Regions from separate parts of the Homo sapiens genome. Here region 2 is linked to region 1. The links are contacts of gene promoters, found by promoter capture Hi-C in human tissues and cell types (Jung and others, 2019). All regions are on one chromosome and are shown on one strand. Each heading gives the region's core, a stretch centred on a gene start or on the middle of the fragment in contact. The rest is flanking DNA. Distances are from core to core; before and after follow the strand shown.

The links. Contacts are between HindIII fragments. The study calls those that stand out against the background at their distance.
Region 2: a fragment that was not itself captured here is called in contact with the fragment with the promoter of YARS2 in region 1 in 1 of the 25 tissues and cell types used here (H1 embryonic stem cells).

What each region holds. Positions count from the first base shown.
Region 1 is chr12:32,754,583-32,758,469 of GRCh38, reverse strand. It overlaps YARS2 (tyrosyl-tRNA synthetase 2), which reads left to right and starts at 2,573. Exons shown (of 5, transcript NM_001040436.3): 1 at 2,573-3,374. The coding sequence starts at 2,596. RefSeq lists enhancers at 1,714-2,353, 2,558-2,787, 2,808-2,907, 2,354-2,993, 3,278-3,437 and 1 more. The HindIII fragment of the contact is 8,220 bases long and covers 604-3,887 here.
Region 2 is chr12:33,406,435-33,410,357 of GRCh38, reverse strand. SYT10 (synaptotagmin 10) reads left to right here. Exons shown (of 7, transcript NM_198992.4): 3 at 3,002-3,569. Among named protein-coding and RNA genes, the nearest start is that of SYT10, 31 kb to the left of the region's middle. The HindIII fragment of the contact is 4,662 bases long and covers 1-3,658 here.

The DNA of each region.
Region 1 (3,887 bases), core at 1,324-3,823:
ATGCAACTAAACTTAAGAGACAAAGCAGAGCTCAAATCTATTTTTAAAAGACTTTATAATAAATTGTAATCCCAGGTAGAAATTTTCTATTTCTCATTATCCACAAAATTCTTCTCCATTAAGCACAGGTCATCAAGTAACCCTGACATCAAGTAACCCTGGCATACTGTTGTAACAAGTAGGATTTTCAAATTACTAACACACCTGTAAAAGCCAGAGAGTTGTGTGTCACCAGAAACACATGTGTGCCCTATGTATTAAGGTACTAAATAGAAAGCACCATTTGCTGTGTGTGTGACAGTACTGATTCCATGTTAGAAGAAAGCTTGCTTACTTGAATACAATTATTACTTTGCTTGATTTTGTAGATCATTCACTAAAATCAGCCTCAGAAAAACAGGATCTTGAACAGAGATAAAAGAAAATACCTAGATCAGCCTCTCTGTGAATGGGCTGACCGACCTAATAAGAATAGGCTGATGGTACCTGCAGAAAGCCACAAAATATTGACCAAGAAAGCAATGATTTACTGCCGACCTGAGACTGCACACGTTTCACAAAAATCTTTTTATCATCCTTTCTCTTAATTGCCCTTAAAAACCAGAGGTGGTCTTTGAACGCTAGCTCACTGCATCCCCCAGGGTTGCTGGTCTCTTGAATAAAGCTAACTTTACTTTCACTACAGCTCTTCTCTTGGGTTTTTGGCTTTCAAGTGACAAGTGGCCCAGATGTGAGTTTCCTTACGTGTGCTCAGGAGAATTTCCTGCCATACCTACTGAAATCTGTCCCTGATCAAAGTGGTGGACCATATGACTGCAGATTGGCCTTGCGAAGTAGCTCATGCCTGTAATCCCAACACTTTGGGAGGCAGAGGTGGGAAGCTTGCTTGAGGCCAGGAGTTTAGGACCACCCTGGGCAATACAGTGAGACCCCCGTCTCTACAAAAACAAAAAATAAAAATTAGCCAGGCATGGTAGTCCACACCTGTAGCTCCAGCTACTTGGGAGGCTGAGGCAGGAAGATCGCTGGAGCCTAGGAGTTCAAGGCTGCAGTGAACCATGATCCTGCCACGGCACTCCAGTGTGGACAACAGAGTGACACTTAAAAAAAAAAAAAACACTGAAGATCAACAGGTTATGATTGCAAATTTTAAGATATTTTGAACACACTATTTTCTTAAGCAGTTGGGAGTATGTTTAATAGCCTATTGAATGAGTATCTCAAAATCCTATTGAAGTTACTATTTGGCAATGAGAAACTAATTCACTGATAATTATACATGCAAAGAAACTAATTATTAAAATAAGTTTTCATTTTGTTAGATAACTTTATAACGTTAAAAAATGGAAAAGTCCTGTAGGGAATGATTTGGAACATGGCCCAGATCCCAGTCACAGGACCAAGGCACTCAATCCCCCAGCTGCTGGGAGTGTTGGTTGCTTATTGCTCACAGCTGAGTCCCTTCCTGCACATCTCACTCTCCAAAAGCCTTAACCCAGCGTTTTGCTTCCTCCCCAGAAACATCCCACATTTAATGAGCAGTCAGTAAGAGGGTCTAAAGGTCTGCCCCCTGGCCTCAATTCAGGATGACTCTGAAAGGAAATCCCGGCTCCAGAGCCCTTACTGGATTGCCTGAGGCCTCTATTACAAATTGTTCACAGTTCAACTTCTTTCTCCCTCCGCCCAACCCGGCCTCCCTCACTCCATTATAGGTGTTGTTCTTAAGAGCACACTCCAATTACCCTCCTGCAAACCAGTCTCCCCCCCAACTCAGAGTCCAGGGAATTCTACCTAAGACGATTTTGAAAGCGGTCCTAGAAATCAGGCTCTAACATGGGATTTTGAAGCTAGATCACCTGCCAGCCAGCTGCCAATAAGAACCTCATCCCTGGTCAGTATTCAGAGCACCTGTCACGCTGCACGATGTGATTACTAACTTGAATCCACTCATGCTAAGCTGTGTCCCAACCTAGTTAACTGTATTTAAAATAAATAAACCACAGGACTTGATGCATGTACTTTATTGCACTGAGTTTTTCTTGCTATACCTTGGACAAGACTGCCACCTCCTGGAAGAGCCGATGAATACTGGGGACGAGGTGCAATTAGGGAATCGGTACTATGAAATTGCTTGCGTCTCAGCAGCAACTCCCTATCTCTCCGCGAACTTAAACCAATTCCTAACCTTTCTCAACCTCTGTGAACAGCTTTTTGCATGGAACCAAGACTTCAAAGAACTTGCGCATCACAATCTTTTTACGTGAAAATGTAAATACAAGTTAGCATTTGTGAAGCGTTATGTGCCAAATGCTTTAATTTTTAAGGCTCACAACAGCCTTATGAGGTAGGAACTATCATAAGCAGATCCACACTGCTGATGGAAAAATTAAGTTTAAGGGAACGTAAGGCGACGGCTCTGAGGCGGAATCGCCACTTGGAGTCGGGACTCAACTGCTGAGAGCGCAAGCTCCGTAACTACGTAACCGTCTCGGGCATGCGCAGAAAAACACTGAAGCACCTTCCCTAGGAGCTGTAAGTAGGTGGGTGTGGTGGGAGCCTCTGCAATCCCAGCATTCCCTTCGTGCCGCTACCAAGATGGCGGCGCCCATCTTGCGGTCCTTTTCCTGGGGCCGGTGGTCTGGTACCCTAAATCTCTCAGTATTGTTGCCCTTGGGGCTGCGTAAGGCCCACTCGGGCGCTCAGGGGTTACTGGCAGCGCAGAAGGCTCGAGGTCTGTTCAAGGACTTCTTCCCGGAGACGGGGACGAAAATAGAGCTCCCAGAGCTCTTCGACCGTGGCACGGCGAGTTTTCCCCAAACCATTTACTGTGGCTTCGACCCCACGGCAGACTCGCTTCATGTGGGTCATCTACTTGCGCTGCTGGGCCTGTTTCATTTGCAGCGAGCGGGCCACAACGTGATCGCGCTGGTGGGAGGCGCCACGGCGCGCCTGGGAGACCCGAGCGGCCGTACCAAGGAACGCGAGGCGCTGGAGACAGAGCGCGTGCGAGCCAACGCGCGAGCTCTGCGCCTAGGGCTTGAGGCCCTGGCGGCTAATCACCAGCAGCTTTTCACTGATGGGCGCTCCTGGGGCAGCTTCACTGTGCTGGACAACTCGGCCTGGTACCAGAAGCAGCACCTGGTGGACTTCCTGGCGGCAGTGGGGGGTCACTTCCGCATGGGGACGCTGCTGAGCCGGCAGAGCGTGCAGCTGCGGCTCAAGAGCCCCGAGGGCATGAGCTTGGCCGAGTTCTTTTACCAGGTGCTCCAGGCCTATGACTTCTATTACCTCTTCCAGCGTTATGGATGCAGGGTCCAGCTGGGCGGATCTGATCAACTAGGCAACATCATGTCCGGATATGAGTTCATCAACAAGTAAGTGCCTTTAAACCTTGGGGAAATCCTGGGACCAAATAATTTACACACTAGTAGCCTGTGATTCACTCTTAGGATTGTAGTTGCTGCCCTTCGTTCCAGCTCTTGTTGGTTTTATCCCCATTAAGGCTCTATAATGGCGTTAATAACACTGGCTAATAAGAATTAAAGGGCTGAATTAAGGGTATTAAGAGTAAACGGTGTATTCTAAAAATTAGCTGGGCGTGGTGATGCACGCCTGTAATCCCAGCTATTCGGGAGGCTGAGGCAGGAGAATCTCTTGAACCCGGGAGGCGAAGGTTTCAGTGAGCCGAGATCGCGCCACTGCACTCCAGCCTGGGGCAACAGAGGGAGACTCCGTCTCAAAAAAAAAAAAAAAAAAAAGGGAAACAGACCACTAGTGAAGATTTGGTCGGTCTGTTTTGCTTCGCCTAAGTCGTCCTCTCTAATTAGAGAAACTGCTTTTGTGTGTTTATACCAGAACGTGACTGGGCCTCCTTGAGTAGCTAGCCT
Region 2 (3,923 bases), core at 78-2,577, 650 kb before region 1:
GAATTACTGCTCAACAGTTCAGTCCAGTTAAAGTAAATAAGCAAATTAAACGTAAGAGAATGAACTTGGCAACACCTTAGATTATAATTCTGATTTTAACAAATTCCATTCTATTAATGCACATAATATTGATACTGCGTTGTAAACATTTAGGCCCGTAAAATTACTGAAGGACTATAGAATGAAAGAGAATCACAGAATAAACTTAAGGTTAGAGAACACTTAATGTTTCCTGCCTCAAGTGAGATGCTAGACTTGCCAAAATCTTATGTGAGGCAGAAATATTTTTCTTCAGCATCTAACCTTTGTTCTACATTTCCAGCTTGAGGAAGTTCACTACTTCACTGTGTTGGATAGCTCTAGATTATTTTAAACGTTCCTTTATATTAAGCTAAAGTTTATCTTCCTGCACCTTCCATAAATTCCTAAATGCTGTCATGACAGTCCTTCGGGCATTAGAAGACAGCTAGCCTTAATCCATCTTTACCCTATTCTTCAACTTCTCCTTTCTAGGTTCAACATCCTCAGCTCCTGTCACTACTTCTCAAATGGTATTGTGGCCAGGCATCTCACTTATGGATGGTCACTAATTTGTAAACTCTTCTTTGAGATCAGGAGATCGAGACCATCCTGGCTAACATGGTGAAACCCCAGTCTCTACTAAAAATACCAAAAAATTAGCCGGGCGTGGTAGGGGGCGCCTGTAGTCCCAGCTACTCGGAAGACTGAGGGAGGAGAATGGCATGAACCTGGGAGGCGGAGCTCGCAGTGAGCCGAGATCACGCCACTGCACTCCAGCCTGGGCGGCAGAGTGAGACTCCGTCTCAAAAAAAAAAAAAGAAAAGAAATCAATGTTCTCACGCCTGTAATCCCAGCACTTTGGGAGGTGGAGGTGGGCAAATCACTTAAGGTCAGGAGTTTGAGACCAGCCTGGCCAACATGGTGAAACCCCATCTCTACCAAAAATACAAAAATTAGCCAGGTGCGGTGGTGGGAGCCTCTAATCTCAGCTACTTGGGAGCCTGAGGCAGGAGAATCGCCTCAACCTGGGAGGTTGAGGTTGCAGTAAGCCAAGATTGTGTCACTGCACTCCAGCCTGGGTGACAGAGTGAGAACCCATTTCGAAAAAAAAGAAATCGAGCTTCATGTGTGCATCAGTGAATCAAATATTAATCATGCAATGTCATCTATATTACTTAGTGCTGTAACAGGTGTAGACCTGCTGCAATAGACAACAGAAGTGAATAAAGTATTTTGAAATGAGTGTTCTGAGGGTGCACTGACTGGGTATTAAGTATAAGACAGAGCTGGAAGGAAAAAAAAAAGCCAGCTGAAGGTGACTAGAGAAAGCAAAATATATGGAGATAAGGATCTGGACTCCACAGCAATGGAAAAGGAGTGGAATGAACAACTATATGAGATGTTTCAAAGGAAAAGCAACAGGATTTAGAAAACTGAGTAAATCCTATGGGTAAAGGGAGAATGATTCAAAGCATACTTCATTCTTGGAAGCATGAGTGACTGATAAAAAATATTAGTGCTATTGTCAGAGATTGTGGGATAAAGAACCGATTTGCAAGCAAAAGGGAGAAAATGATGAGTTTGGTTGCATTTGGGGAGAAATGAAGACATCTGTTTAGAAATCTTCCTTAGAAATTTAGAGATACGGGACTAGAAGTTTATGTAGCTGGGATTTATCTGAGAAACCATCAGATTCAAGACAATAATTATAGTCCAAGAACTGATGATTAGTCTGATGAACAGACTGACAAGAAATATAACAAAAGACGTGGGACTAAGCTTTGAGGAGATGGGTAGTTTGGCACAGTTCGTGCCAGAAAGCATGGAGTAAGTATAAAAGCAGCAGATCTTTAATGCAAGTCACATGTAGAAGACATTAGTAAGCTTATATATTTAATATTCTGGAAATGTTGACTAGATGAGTAGTAATAGTGACTATAGGAAATTCAGTCTGAATTTTTAAAAACTTGTTTTGTTGGGCTCAAATTCTAAAATTCTACGTTTGTTTTTATCCTTAGAGTTTCTGAAGACCACAGCATGTTGAAAAAAAGAAAATGTACTCATTTTTGGCTGCCACAACTATATATTCTTTTTAAAAGTAAATATGTATTTAGTTAGATTAAGAATTAGAAACAACTCATTATAAGAAAATGTGGACCTATAACATGTTTTTAATTTTAATACTATAGTCACTAAAATGTGAAATTCATGAGACTCAAATATCCAGGTGAAAAGAAACCAGCCATCTGAATGATTTTGTCTGTATAATACTTACATCTAGATAGACCCAGATGACTGATAACATTCACAATTTTCTGTGGAATATTGAATTTTTTTGCTAATCATGTTTCTTTAGAATTGTTTTTAATTATGTGCTTATGATTGAGAGTACAAAATTTCAAAAGCATATGAAAATTAACATTGGCCAGCCACGTGTTGTGGCTCACTTGTGTTATCTCGGCACTTTGGGAGACTGAGGTGAGAGGATTGCGTGAGCCCAGAAGTTCAAGACCAGCCTGGGCAACATAGCAAGACTCTGTCTCTACAAAAAATTTAAAAATTAACTGGGCAGGTGTGGTGGCACATGCCTGTAGTCCCAGCTACTCAGGAGGCGGAGGCCAGAGGATGGCTTGAGCTCAGGAGTTTTAAGCTACAGTGAGCTATAATAGCACTACCGTACTCCAGCTAGGGTGACAGAACAAGATCCTGTCTCAAAAAACAAAAAACAAAACAAAACAAACAAACAAAAAGAACATTTAAGTGTTTCAGATGTTCTGGAATTTTAGGAGACTTCTCTTTGAATATTGTACTTCTTTATTTTTTCAAAAGTACCTCTTTGATTATATGTATGTGTCTATCTATGTAGATATAGATATCTTTTCACTATTCTGGGGGTGGGGAAGAGTTTATATGTCACTGTATAACATTCTCATCAAAATGATCTCCCTCAATGATTTTGTGTATATGTGTGTGTGTTCAGCCACAGTTCCTTCCGAAGACACCTGCCGAGGCAAATGCAGGTTTCCAGTGTTGATTTTAGCATGGGCACAGAACCTGTTTTACAACGAGGAGAAACAACAACCAGCATTGGGAGGATAAAGCCAGAACTCTACAAACAGAAATCAGTTGACTCTGAGGGCAACCAAAACGAAGATGTCAAAATCTGTGGGAAACTTAACTTTACCCTCCAGTATGATTATGAAAATGAACTTCTAGTTGTTAAAATTATCAAAGCTTTAGATCTCCCTGCTAAAGACTTCACAGGAACTTCTGACCCTTATGTGAAGATGTATCTTCTTCCAGATAGGAAAAAGAAATTTCAGACCCGCGTGCACAGAAAGACTTTAAATCCTCTATTTGATGAAACTTTTCAATTTCCTGTAGCATATGATCAACTAAGCAACCGAAAACTACATTTCAGTGTGTATGATTTTGACAGATTTTCTAGACATGACATGATTGGGGAAGTGATTCTTGATAATTTGTTTGAAGTCTCTGATCTCTCCAGGGAAGCCACAGTATGGAAAGATATTCACTGTGCTACCACAGTAAGTAGTAATTCCACCAATATATTGTTTTTTATTTGACTTACAATGCTATGTGACTAATTATTACCCAAATTATCGGAATAAGCCTTGCAGAGTTATGGAATTTATGTCTAAGATCCTGCAAAGGTAGAATTTCATTTCTACTAATAATAATTCAGGCACCTAATGCTGAATATACTAGTAACCCTAGTGATTGTGTGAATAAAAAAACGTAGCTCTTATAAATTAGCAGAACTGGTAGGCTATTTCTCCTTTAAAATATTCATCTGTAATATAAATATCCTATCTGCAGCACCAAGTTTCCTCACAGTTAGTATTGACTTTCATTATTTAAGGTAATTTTGTTATTTTCAT